Linked DNA regions of Homo sapiens: all the other regions are linked to region 2. Evidence: promoter capture Hi-C in 16 types of primary human blood cells and fetal thymus (Javierre and others, 2016). All regions are on one chromosome and are shown on one strand. The core of a region is centred on a gene start or on the middle of the fragment in contact, and the rest is flanking DNA. Distances in the headings are between cores, read along the strand shown.

The links. The method cuts DNA at HindIII sites, captures the fragments that hold promoters and counts their contacts. A CHiCAGO score of 5 or more calls a contact.
Region 1: a fragment that was not itself captured here is called in contact with the fragment with the promoter of GOT1L1 in region 2 in 1 of 17 cell types (neutrophils); the score reaches 5.3 in neutrophils.
Region 3: a fragment that was not itself captured here is called in contact with the fragment with the promoter of GOT1L1 in region 2 in 1 of 17 cell types (M2 macrophages); the score reaches 5.5 in M2 macrophages.

The regions. Positions count from the first base shown.
Region 1 is chr8:37,809,193-37,812,350 of GRCh38, reverse strand. All of the region lies in intron 1 of ADGRA2 (adhesion G protein-coupled receptor A2), which reads right to left. Among named protein-coding and RNA genes, the nearest start is that of ADGRA2, 14 kb to the right of the region's middle. RefSeq lists a silencer at 2,613-2,835. The HindIII fragment of the contact is 5,635 bases long and covers 1-3,158 here.
Region 2 is chr8:37,938,382-37,941,661 of GRCh38, reverse strand. It overlaps GOT1L1 (glutamic-oxaloacetic transaminase 1 like 1), which reads left to right and starts at 1,538. Exons shown (of 9, transcript NM_152413.3): 1 at 1,538-1,747; 2 at 2,781-2,962. The coding sequence starts at 1,633. RefSeq lists an enhancer at 1,516-2,032. The HindIII fragment of the contact is 5,963 bases long and covers 1-1,847 here.
Region 3 is chr8:37,774,816-37,778,099 of GRCh38, reverse strand. It overlaps PLPBP (pyridoxal phosphate binding protein), which reads right to left. Exons shown (of 8, transcript NM_007198.4): 6 at 2,619-2,761; 7 at 2,084-2,182; 8 at 1-127. Among named protein-coding and RNA genes, the nearest start is that of PLPBP, 14 kb to the right of the region's middle. The HindIII fragment of the contact is 2,826 bases long and covers 1-2,663 here.

The DNA.
Region 1 (3,158 bases), core at 72-2,571, 130 kb after region 2:
CAGCCACAAATCCTCAATATTAAAACCTGAGATCTCAGTTTGAGAGCTCTGCCCAGCGTGGGGCAGAGGTAGTGTTGGTGGGGGTGATTCCTCACATTTTCCCAACTCTTTAGCCTTTAACCCACTTCAAATACCCCAAATTCTTTAACAGAGAGCTGACAACAACAACAACAACAACAACAACAACAACAACAACACCATTGCAAGTGCATGTCATTTTAAATTTTCTTTTCTTTTCTTTTTTTTTCTGAAAGAGAGTCTCATTCTGTGGCCCAGACTGGAGTGCAATGGCACGATGTCGGCTCACTGCAACCTCCGCCTCTCGGGTTCAAGTGATTCTCCTGCCTCAGCCTCCAGAGTAGCTGGATTACAGGTGCCCGTCACCATGCATGGCTAATTTTTATCTTTTTAGTAGAGGCGGGGTTTCACCATGTTGGCCAGGTTGGTCTCAAACTCCTGACTTCAGGTGATCCGCCTGCCTCGGCCTCCCAGAGTGCTGGGATTATAGGTGTAAACTACCGCACCCAGCCCATTTTAAATTTCCTAGTAGCCACATTTAAAAAGTTTAAAAGTTGGGCCAGGTGCGGTGGCTCACACCTATAATCCCAGAACTCTGGGAGGCTGAGGCGGGCAGATCACCTGTGGTCAGGAGTTTGAGACCAGCCTGGCAAACATGGCGAAACCCCGTCTCTACCAAAAATACAAAATTAGCCAGGCGTGGTGGTGCATGCCTGTAATCCCAGCTACTTGGAGGGCTGAGGCAGGAGAATCACTTGAACCTGGGAGGCGGAGGTTCCAGTGAGCCGAGATTGCACCATTGCACTCCAGCCTGGGCAACAAGAGAAAAACTCTGTTGCCAAAAAAAAAAAAAAAAAAGTTGGCTGGGTGCAGTGGTTTACATCTGTAATCCCAGCACTTTGAGAGGCTGAGGCAGGCAGATCACCTGAGGTCAGGAGTTGGAGACCAGCCTGGCCAACATGGTGAAACTCCATCTCTACTAAAAATACAAAAAAATTAGCCAGGCGTGGTGGCAGGCGCCTGTAATCCCAGCCACTTGGGAGGCTGAGGCAGGAGAATCTCTTGAACCCAAGAGGCGGAGGTTGCAGTGAGCCGAGAACGCGCTATTGCACTCCAGCCTGGGTGACAAGAGTGAAACTCCGTCTCAAAAAAAAAAAAAAAAAACACACACACACACACAGTATAAAAGTTCTTTTTTTTTTTTTTTTTTTTTGTTTTTGAGACAGAGTCTTGCTCTGTTGCCCAGTCTGCAGTGCAGTGGCGTGATCTCGGCTCACTGCAAGCTCCGCCTCCCGGCTTCACGCCATTCTCCTGCCTCAGCCTTTTGAGTAGCCGGGACTACAGGCACCCGCCACCCTAATTTTTTTGTATTTTTTTTTTAGTAGAGACGGGGTTTCACTATGTTAGCCAGGATGGTCTTGATCTCCTGACCTCATGATCCACTCGCCTCGGCCTCCCAAAGTGCTGGGATTACAGGCATGATACGGCCACCGCGCCCAGCCTAAAAGTTCATTTTGAGAACATATGTTATTTAGGCCTGGTGCAGTGGCTCATGCCTGCAATCCCAGTGCTTTGGAAAGCTGAGTCAGGAGAATTGCTTGAAGCCAGGAGTTCAAGACCAGTCTGGGCAACATAGCAAGACCCTGTCTCTATAAAACATTTTTTAAAAAGTAGCCAGACGTGGTGGCCTGCCTGTAGTCCTAGCTACTTGGGAGGACGAGGCAAGAGGATCACTTGAGCCCAGGAGTTTGAGGCTGCAGTGAGCTGTGATTGCACCACTGCACTCCAGCCTGAGCGAGACCCTGTTTCTTTTCTTTTTTTTTGAGAGAGAGAGCCTTGCTCTGTTGCCAGGCTGGAGTGCAGTGGCATGCTCTCAGCTCACTGCAACCTCCGCCTCCTGGGTTCAAGCGATTCTCCTACTGCCGCCTCCCAAGTAGCTGGGACTACAGGTGCATGCCACCACACCCAGCTAATTTTTGTATTTTTAGTAGAAACGGGGTTTCACCATGTTGGCCAGGATGGTCTCGATCTCTTGATCTCATGATCCGCCCGCCTCATCTTCCTAAAGTGCTGGGATTACAGGCGTGAGCCACCTCACCCAGCCTAGCGAGACCCTGTTTCTAAAAATATATGTGTGTGTGTGTATATATATATATTTTTATATATATATGATCTAACTCAATGTATCCAAAATGTTATTTTTATATGTAATCAATATAAAATTATTAATGAGATACTTTCATTTTGATTTTGGTAGAAAGTCTTAGGACTCTGGAATGTCCTACTACTCTATTCTCTGCCAACACACCTAAATTCAGACCAGCTGCGGGCACTGGTGTCAGTGTGCAGGGCGGCAGCAGAGCGACAGATCGGGGACCTACCCCAGAGGAGGGCAAGGACAAGCCTCTGGCCCAGAATAGCTTATCTCTGGGACCGGCTCCCATCCCTCCCCAGGCTGCCCTGAGCCCAGACTTCATGCAGTCCCGGTCTCGGCCTCTCTCTCTCTTCCCTCCACCCACCCCTCTCTCTCTGAGGCAGCCTCTGTGTGTGCTGGGAGGCAAGGGCTGAGTTGAGTGGGGGGCAGCTGCAGCCCACGCTTCCGGTTTGGCTAGCCCAGCACCAACTCCAGCCCTGAAAGTCTTGAAATGAGATATTTTCTTGCTGCAGAGAACATGGTCCTGATGCCCCACCCTCTGACCCACTCGCAGATGCAGGCACCAGGCAAAGGCCTTTTCATCCTTCTCCTCCAAGGGGCCCCCTTCTTGCCAAATTTCTAGCTCTTGGAAAGACCTCAGGCAGATTGCTGTGTGATTCGAGTCCTCAGATACCCAGGGTTGGATCTTTTGGCCTTAACAACCTGGAGAGGTCTGAGGAAGTTTACTCTAGACCTAGATTATCCAGAGAGGGGCCTCCATTGACATTGAGTTGCTGGTTCTATTCTCCAGAGGGTGCCTTGTGGTGGGTCTATCTGGGGAGAGGAGGGCAGGCAGTTTTAGACAGATAGTGCAGGGGTCTGGTCTTTTTTTTTTTTTTTAAGAGAGACAAGTTTCGCTCTATTGCCCAGGCTGGAGTACAGTGGCATGATCACAAATCACTGCAGCCTCCACCTCTTGAGCTCAAGCAATCCTCTCACCTTGGCC
Region 2 (3,280 bases), core at 289-2,788:
CATATAAGCCTTGTCCACCAGCGAAGCAGCAGCTGGGGCCGGGCACATTGGTGGTGAAGGCCTTCTGGGTGAGACATCAACAGTGTTTGCAACAATCATTTAAAGAGTTATTTAACATCAGGCTGGGTGTGGTGGCTCATGCCTGTAATCCTAACACTTTGGGAGGCTGAGGTAGGCAGATCACTTGAGGTCAGGAGTTTGAGACCAGTCTGGCCAACGTGGTGAAACCCTGTCTCTACTAAAAATACAAAAAAAAGCCGGGCGCAGTGACTCACGCCTGTAATCCCAGCACTTTGGGAGGCCCAGGTGGGCAGATCACCTGAGGTCTGGAGTTTGAGACCAGCCTGATCAACATGGAGAAATCCCCCTCTCTACTAAAAATACAAAATTAGTTGGGTGTGGTGGCGCATGCCTGTAATCCCAGCTACTCGGGAGGCTGAGGCAGGAGAATCTCTTGAACCTGGGAAGCAGAGGTTGCAGTGAGCCGAGATCACACCACTGCACTCCAATGTGGGCAGCAAGAGCGAGACTCTGTCTCAAAAAAAAAAAAAAAAAAAAAGAGAGAGTCATTAAACATCAAAAGGAAAAGAAAGCAAGCAATATGCAGACTGACTCTATAGAGGCTGGCTCTTTTCTCCCCTTGGCCTCTGCTGTCTATACTTACTAGTTGGCTGTCATTGAAACTTAACAAATGGCCAGGTGTGGTGGCTCATGCCTGTAATCCCAGCAGTTTGGGAGGCCAAGGCAGGCAGATCACCTGAGGCAAGGAGTTCGAGACTATCGACAAAGTGAGACTCCATCTCAAAAAAAAAAAAAACCAAAAAAAGAAAGAAAAAGAAACTTAACAAACATATGTAGAAGTCTTGGCTCTAGATAACTGAGAGAAATAGGACTGGCTTAGTGAGTTGCCAATTATATTCTAATAATAGGATTCTTTATTAAAACAACTGTGGAAGAAAACAGTGTTTGCTTTTTATTCCTTTTGAAATCTGGGGCACTTTGCAAAATGGAAATCAATGCCTCGACTTGCATTGGTGTGTGATCTGGGGTTTTTGCTTCTGCAGGAGAAGCCCTATCTGGCTTATTGGCTGCCTGCCTTGCCCTATGTCTTTCTTTCTTTTTTTTTTTTTTAATTTGTATAAATGTGTGAAGTACAAGTGTAATTTTGTTAGATGCATACATCGCATAGTGGTGAAGTCAGGGCTTTTAGGGTATCCATAACCCCAACAATGTACATTGTATCTGTTAAGTAATCTCCCATTATCCTTGCCCTGTCATCTAAGGAGTGGGCTTGTTACTTTGGACTGAGCCACCTGGGGCTAGAGAAGAGAAGGCATTGAGTGAGGGAAACGGGCTTGGGAATTCCGGAGATTGTTATCCTGCCCTGCCCGCTGTCTGAGGGGATTCTCCTCAAGTACCCTGGAATGTTCCTGTGGCCCCTGTGGATCGCCACCACAAAGATCATGAGGTTCTGTTGCCCTGGCAACCCGTTGTCCAGCGCCTCTGCACTGGGGCTGCCAAGGTTCCAGGAAGAGGCAGGACTGCCCGGCCCAGCCTTGGAGGAAGACTTCTGGGCAGAAGCGGAACACAGGAGCAGAGACACATAGTCTTGGCTCCAGTTTCGTTTCAGTTATGCCCACCCTTTCAGTGTTCATGGATGTGCCCCTCGCCCACAAGCTAGAGGGCAGCTTGTTAAAGACCTACAAACAAGATGATTACCCGAACAAGATATTCTTAGCCTATAGAGGTAGATGCCTAGCAGTTCTGAAGTATAAGACTTAAGTGATGGTAACTGCCTCTAGGAGGACAGTGTTCCCTGCTGCAGGGGGAGGGGTGCAGCCCAAGCTTCTGTGGGTGGAGAGATCTTTTCTTGTTAACAGAATTACCCAGTGGGGAAAAGTGCAGATAAGGTCCCAGGTCATTCCATGCTCTCTGCCCTTCTCTGGGGGCTTCTAGGGATTTGGTGAGAGCTATGTCCTCTTCCACAACTCTATGCTTGGGGGCCTGCATGGCCATCCCACACTTCTTCAGATTCTTACCTCCTCTCTCTCTCTTTCTCTTTCTCTTCCTGTTCTTGAACCAAGAATGGTTCTCCAGATTGAGCTTTCTGCTATGCAACTGGGGCTCACCACTGTGAAAGTCAGGGTTACCTTTATTTAGCTTCATCTACCTATAACTCTCATTTTGCATATATATATATATATATATATATATATATATATATATATATTTTTTTTTTTTTTTTCTTGAGACAGGGCCTCACTCTGTTGCCCAGGCTGAAGTGCAGTGGCAAGATCTCAGCTCACTGCCACCTTTGCCTCCTGGGCTCAAACCATCCTCTTGCCTCAGCCTCCTGAGTAGCTGGGACTACAGGCGCTGGTCACCATGTCTGGCTGTTTTGTATTTTTTTGTAGAGACAGGGTTTCATCATGTTGCCCAGGCTGATCTTGAACTCCTGAACTCAAGTGATCCACCCACCTTAGCCTCCCGAAGTGCTGGGATTACAGGCCTGAGCCACCAATCCTGGGCTTGTATAATTTTTAACCTTTAAAATGGCATAGGTTTCAGTTGTCTTTTTTAAAAAGACAAAAATAATACACATTCACTAACAGCATATTCTTTTCATCAAGGAGAAAAGAAAAGGGAAAGTTGTATTTTCACAGGCACCTTCCCACAGCCCCATGGAGTCCAGGAGAGATTTGTTTGCAGGCTGTCTGCAGAGCTCAGCCCTGGGGGCCCAAACCAGGCATCTGGAGCTCCCTCTGTGGTTTTCCTCACAGTCTGCATGACAAATGAAGGCCATCCCTGGGTTTCTCTCGTGGTGCAGAAGACTCGACTACAGATTTCACAGGATCCCTCCCTGAATTATGAGTACTTGCCCACCATGGGCCTGAAATCATTCATCCAGGCCTCTCTAGCACTCCTCTTTGGAAAGCACAGCCAAGCCATTGTGGAGAACAGGGTGAGAAGGTGGGCCCTCCCCTGGCTCATTTAGACACAGAGAGTGGCGATCTGGGTCTGCACAACCTTAAACCCGAAGGGGACCTCGGAGGGCCCCCTGGTATTGATAAAAGAGATACCTGAGGCTCAGAGAGTCCACAAGTCCTTAGCCATCGAGTCAGGATCGGAATCTCAGTCCAGTGGTATTCCCACCTGCTCACACTGCTGATTTGAAAGCTCTTTCAAGACAGGAATGATCTGAATTGGAGGTGGTGTTAGTATTCCCATTACTGTTTTATTTTTTAACCTATTATATATATTTTTTGAGACAGAGTCTCAC
Region 3 (3,284 bases), core at 1-2,500, 160 kb after region 2:
GCTCCTGTGCCACCTCCAGCGGGGCCTTCACGTCTGCTGCGCACTTGTCCGGGGTGGGTTTCTTTGAGTAATCCCGCTCTCCAAAAATCGTGCTTCCTATTCGGACATTTGTAGATCCTACTTCAACCTGTGGGAAAAAAGAGAAGGTATCGAGGACCAGGTTTAAAATAATAAAATGGAGCCAGTGCTGAAGCTGTGCCCCCATTCTGGCTCTCAAGAGCCTTCTATGGACGGGGCGTGGTGGCTCACGCCTGTAATCCCAGCATTTTGGGAGGCCGAGGTGGGCAGATCACGAGATCAGGGGTTTGAGACCAGCCTGACCAACATGGAGAAACCCTGTCTCTATTAAAAATACAAAATTAGCCGGGCATAGTGGCACATGCCTGTAATCCCAGCTACTCGGGAGGCTGAAGCAGGAGAATTGCTTGAACCCAGGAGGTGGAGGTTGCGGTGAGCAGAGGTTGCGCCATTGCACTCCAGCCTGGGCAACAAGAGCGAAACTCCATCTCAAAAAAAACAAAAAAAAACAAAAACAGAGCCTTCTATGAATAATAACACAGCTGAAGATGGCTTCAGGATGATTGTTCTCCTCAGAGGTAAAATTGCCTCTGAGGGCATATATAGGAAACAAGTTGGGTTTCTCTGGATTTCCAGTGGTTGGAGAGTGTGGCTGGCACTCAGCTCGGAGGGGGTCAAGGACATTAGACGTCCAGTGTGAGACGCAGCCACACAGCACAGCCCACCTACCTCTCCAATGTGCCACGGTCAGGTAGATGAAAAAAATATCCTTATAATTATCTGATCAAATTCCATTTTACTTATCAATGCAATGTATTTTTGCACTGTTTTAAGAAATACAATTTTCCAGGAATGCAAGTTTATATTTTGATTTTTGAAACTTTATCAAGTTATTTGCTATTTCAGAAAATCATGTATTTGCGTTGCCAATCTAGCACACCTGTATCAGTTGATATTTACAGCTGTTGATGTACATATAAGATTGTTGGTGAATCTACACATAAGATTAAGCCTCGGACGGGTGCAGTGGCTCATGCCTGTAATCCCATCACTTTGGGAGGCCTAGGTGGGTGGATTACCTGAGGTCAGGAGTTCGAGACCAGCCTGGCCAATACGGTGAAACCCTGTCTTAACTAAAAATTCAAAAATTAGCTGGGCATTGTGGCAGGCGCCTGTAATCCCAGCTACTTGGGAGGCTGAAGCAGGAGAATCACTTGAACCTGGGAGGTGGAGGTTACAGTGAGCTGAGATCGCGCCACTGCACTCCGGCCTGGGCAATAGAGCGAGACTCAGTCTCCAAAAAAAAACAAACAAACATGAAGCCTTAGGCTGCTTCATCGTGATTTGCTGTGATACAGCCATGCCCACGCACTTACGTAATGAAATGCCTTTCCAAAAATTATAGCTTAATTTCTTATTTTCCTTTAGACTACACTTATGGAATTATGTTTATAATTTATGAAATTATAATTATAATTAATTTCTTATTTCCTTTAGATTACACTTACGGAATTATATTTTGTTTTAAAAGTTCAGATGTCAGGCTATAATTTCTATACATTTCTTTTCTTTCTTTTGTTTTTTTTTTTTTTTTTTTTTTTTTGAGATGGAGTCTCGCTCTGTTGCCAGCCAGGCTGGAGTGCAGTGGCGCGACCTCGGCTCACTGCAATCTCCGCCTCCTGGGTTCAAGCGATTCTCCTGCCTCAGCCTCCTGAGTAGCTGGGATTACAGGCGTGCGCCACCACGCCCAGCTAATTTTTGTATTTTTAGGAGAGACGGGGTTTCACCATGTTGGTCAGGCTGGTCTCGAACTCCTGACCTCGTGATCTGCCCGGCTCGGCCTCCCAAAGTGCTGGGATTACAGGCGTGCGCCACCGCACCTGGCTCTTTTCAAAAAAGAAAGGGCATGGGGAATGGGAGATGCTGGAATAGCTGACACTGGGTACCTTACTGCCATCCCAAGGCATTTCCAAGGCTTCTACAGCAAAGATCTGCTCTTGTGTCAGCCTCTCAGACCCCCTACCCCCACCCCTCGAGGCAGACAGGGCACTGGCAGGACACTCACCGCATGCTGGAAATCCGCGGACATGCCCATGCTCAGCTCAACCTGGTCAGCAGGGATGTTCAGCTTTTTACACAGCTCCTCCCGGAGGGACAATAACAGCTGACAGAAAGAGATGACACCTATTTTACTCCTGCCTTCTCTAACGATGCCCAAAAGTGTCTGAATCTGAACTTCTCTGACAACGGTTATGTATTCCTTATGATTTCAAGGCCTGCCAAAATTGCCAGACGTTACTGAAAGGGTTTTTTGCAAACTATCCCACTTTCGAGAAAACTATTAGTCACTGGAGAGGAAGAAATCTCATATTCTCTAAAGACTATGTTTTAGCCAAGTTCAAGTTGAGTTGAAAAAGGTTTGTGGGGCTTTGGAAACCTGTTCTTCCCTTTTCCTTCTGAGAAGAGTTCAAAAGAGGGCTAGAACACTCAACAGGCAGTGTCTGGGATGACTCTGCAATCCCCACTGCAGCCAGCCCTGCAATAGCACTCCAGCACCCTGCTTCTTTAGCACACGAGCAATCTCCCCGACCCCCCAGTACCTGGAAGTCTGGATTTGGTCCTTGACTAAGATCATGCCCAAAGCTTCCTATGGTCATCAGCCCCACAAACTCCAGGTTAGGACACTTGGCGTTTATGTGCTCCACGATGGCTATGGTCTCTGAAGGTGGAAGGCCATGTTTACCTTCAAGAAAAGAAACAGAAAACAGGTATACTGCAAGGGTAAATGGCCAGAGGAAGGCTCCATTTTCCTCCCTTCCTTACGACAGAAGAGGTGACCCCCAACAAGAGAACCTCTTGAAAGAGCCTCAAGTCCTAAAGAGTAACTTTATACTTGGGGTTTTCTATGTTGCTCTGCTTCTGGTCAGGTTCTAAATTTCTCAAGAAAAGAACTATCAGTTGGATTCTCTTTCCTCCATCTCAGGATTTCAGCTGAAAACAGCTAGGAGACATGGAAAAGAAAAAATCTTGCTTTTTTGGGATACCAGGAAGATTTGCATTGCCAAAATGCCAGATGAACCTGAGAATTACTTTTCTAAATCAAGAATTTTTATAGTTTTATTAATTTAATGGAGTTGCAAAAAATTTAGTATAAAGTACATGTTAAATATTTTTGGCTATATATTAGCAAAGTTTAACTGAACTTTCTAATTAACAACTGGAAGAGAAATCTGCAGCAAGCAATTATTTGTTATACAGTTATAAGA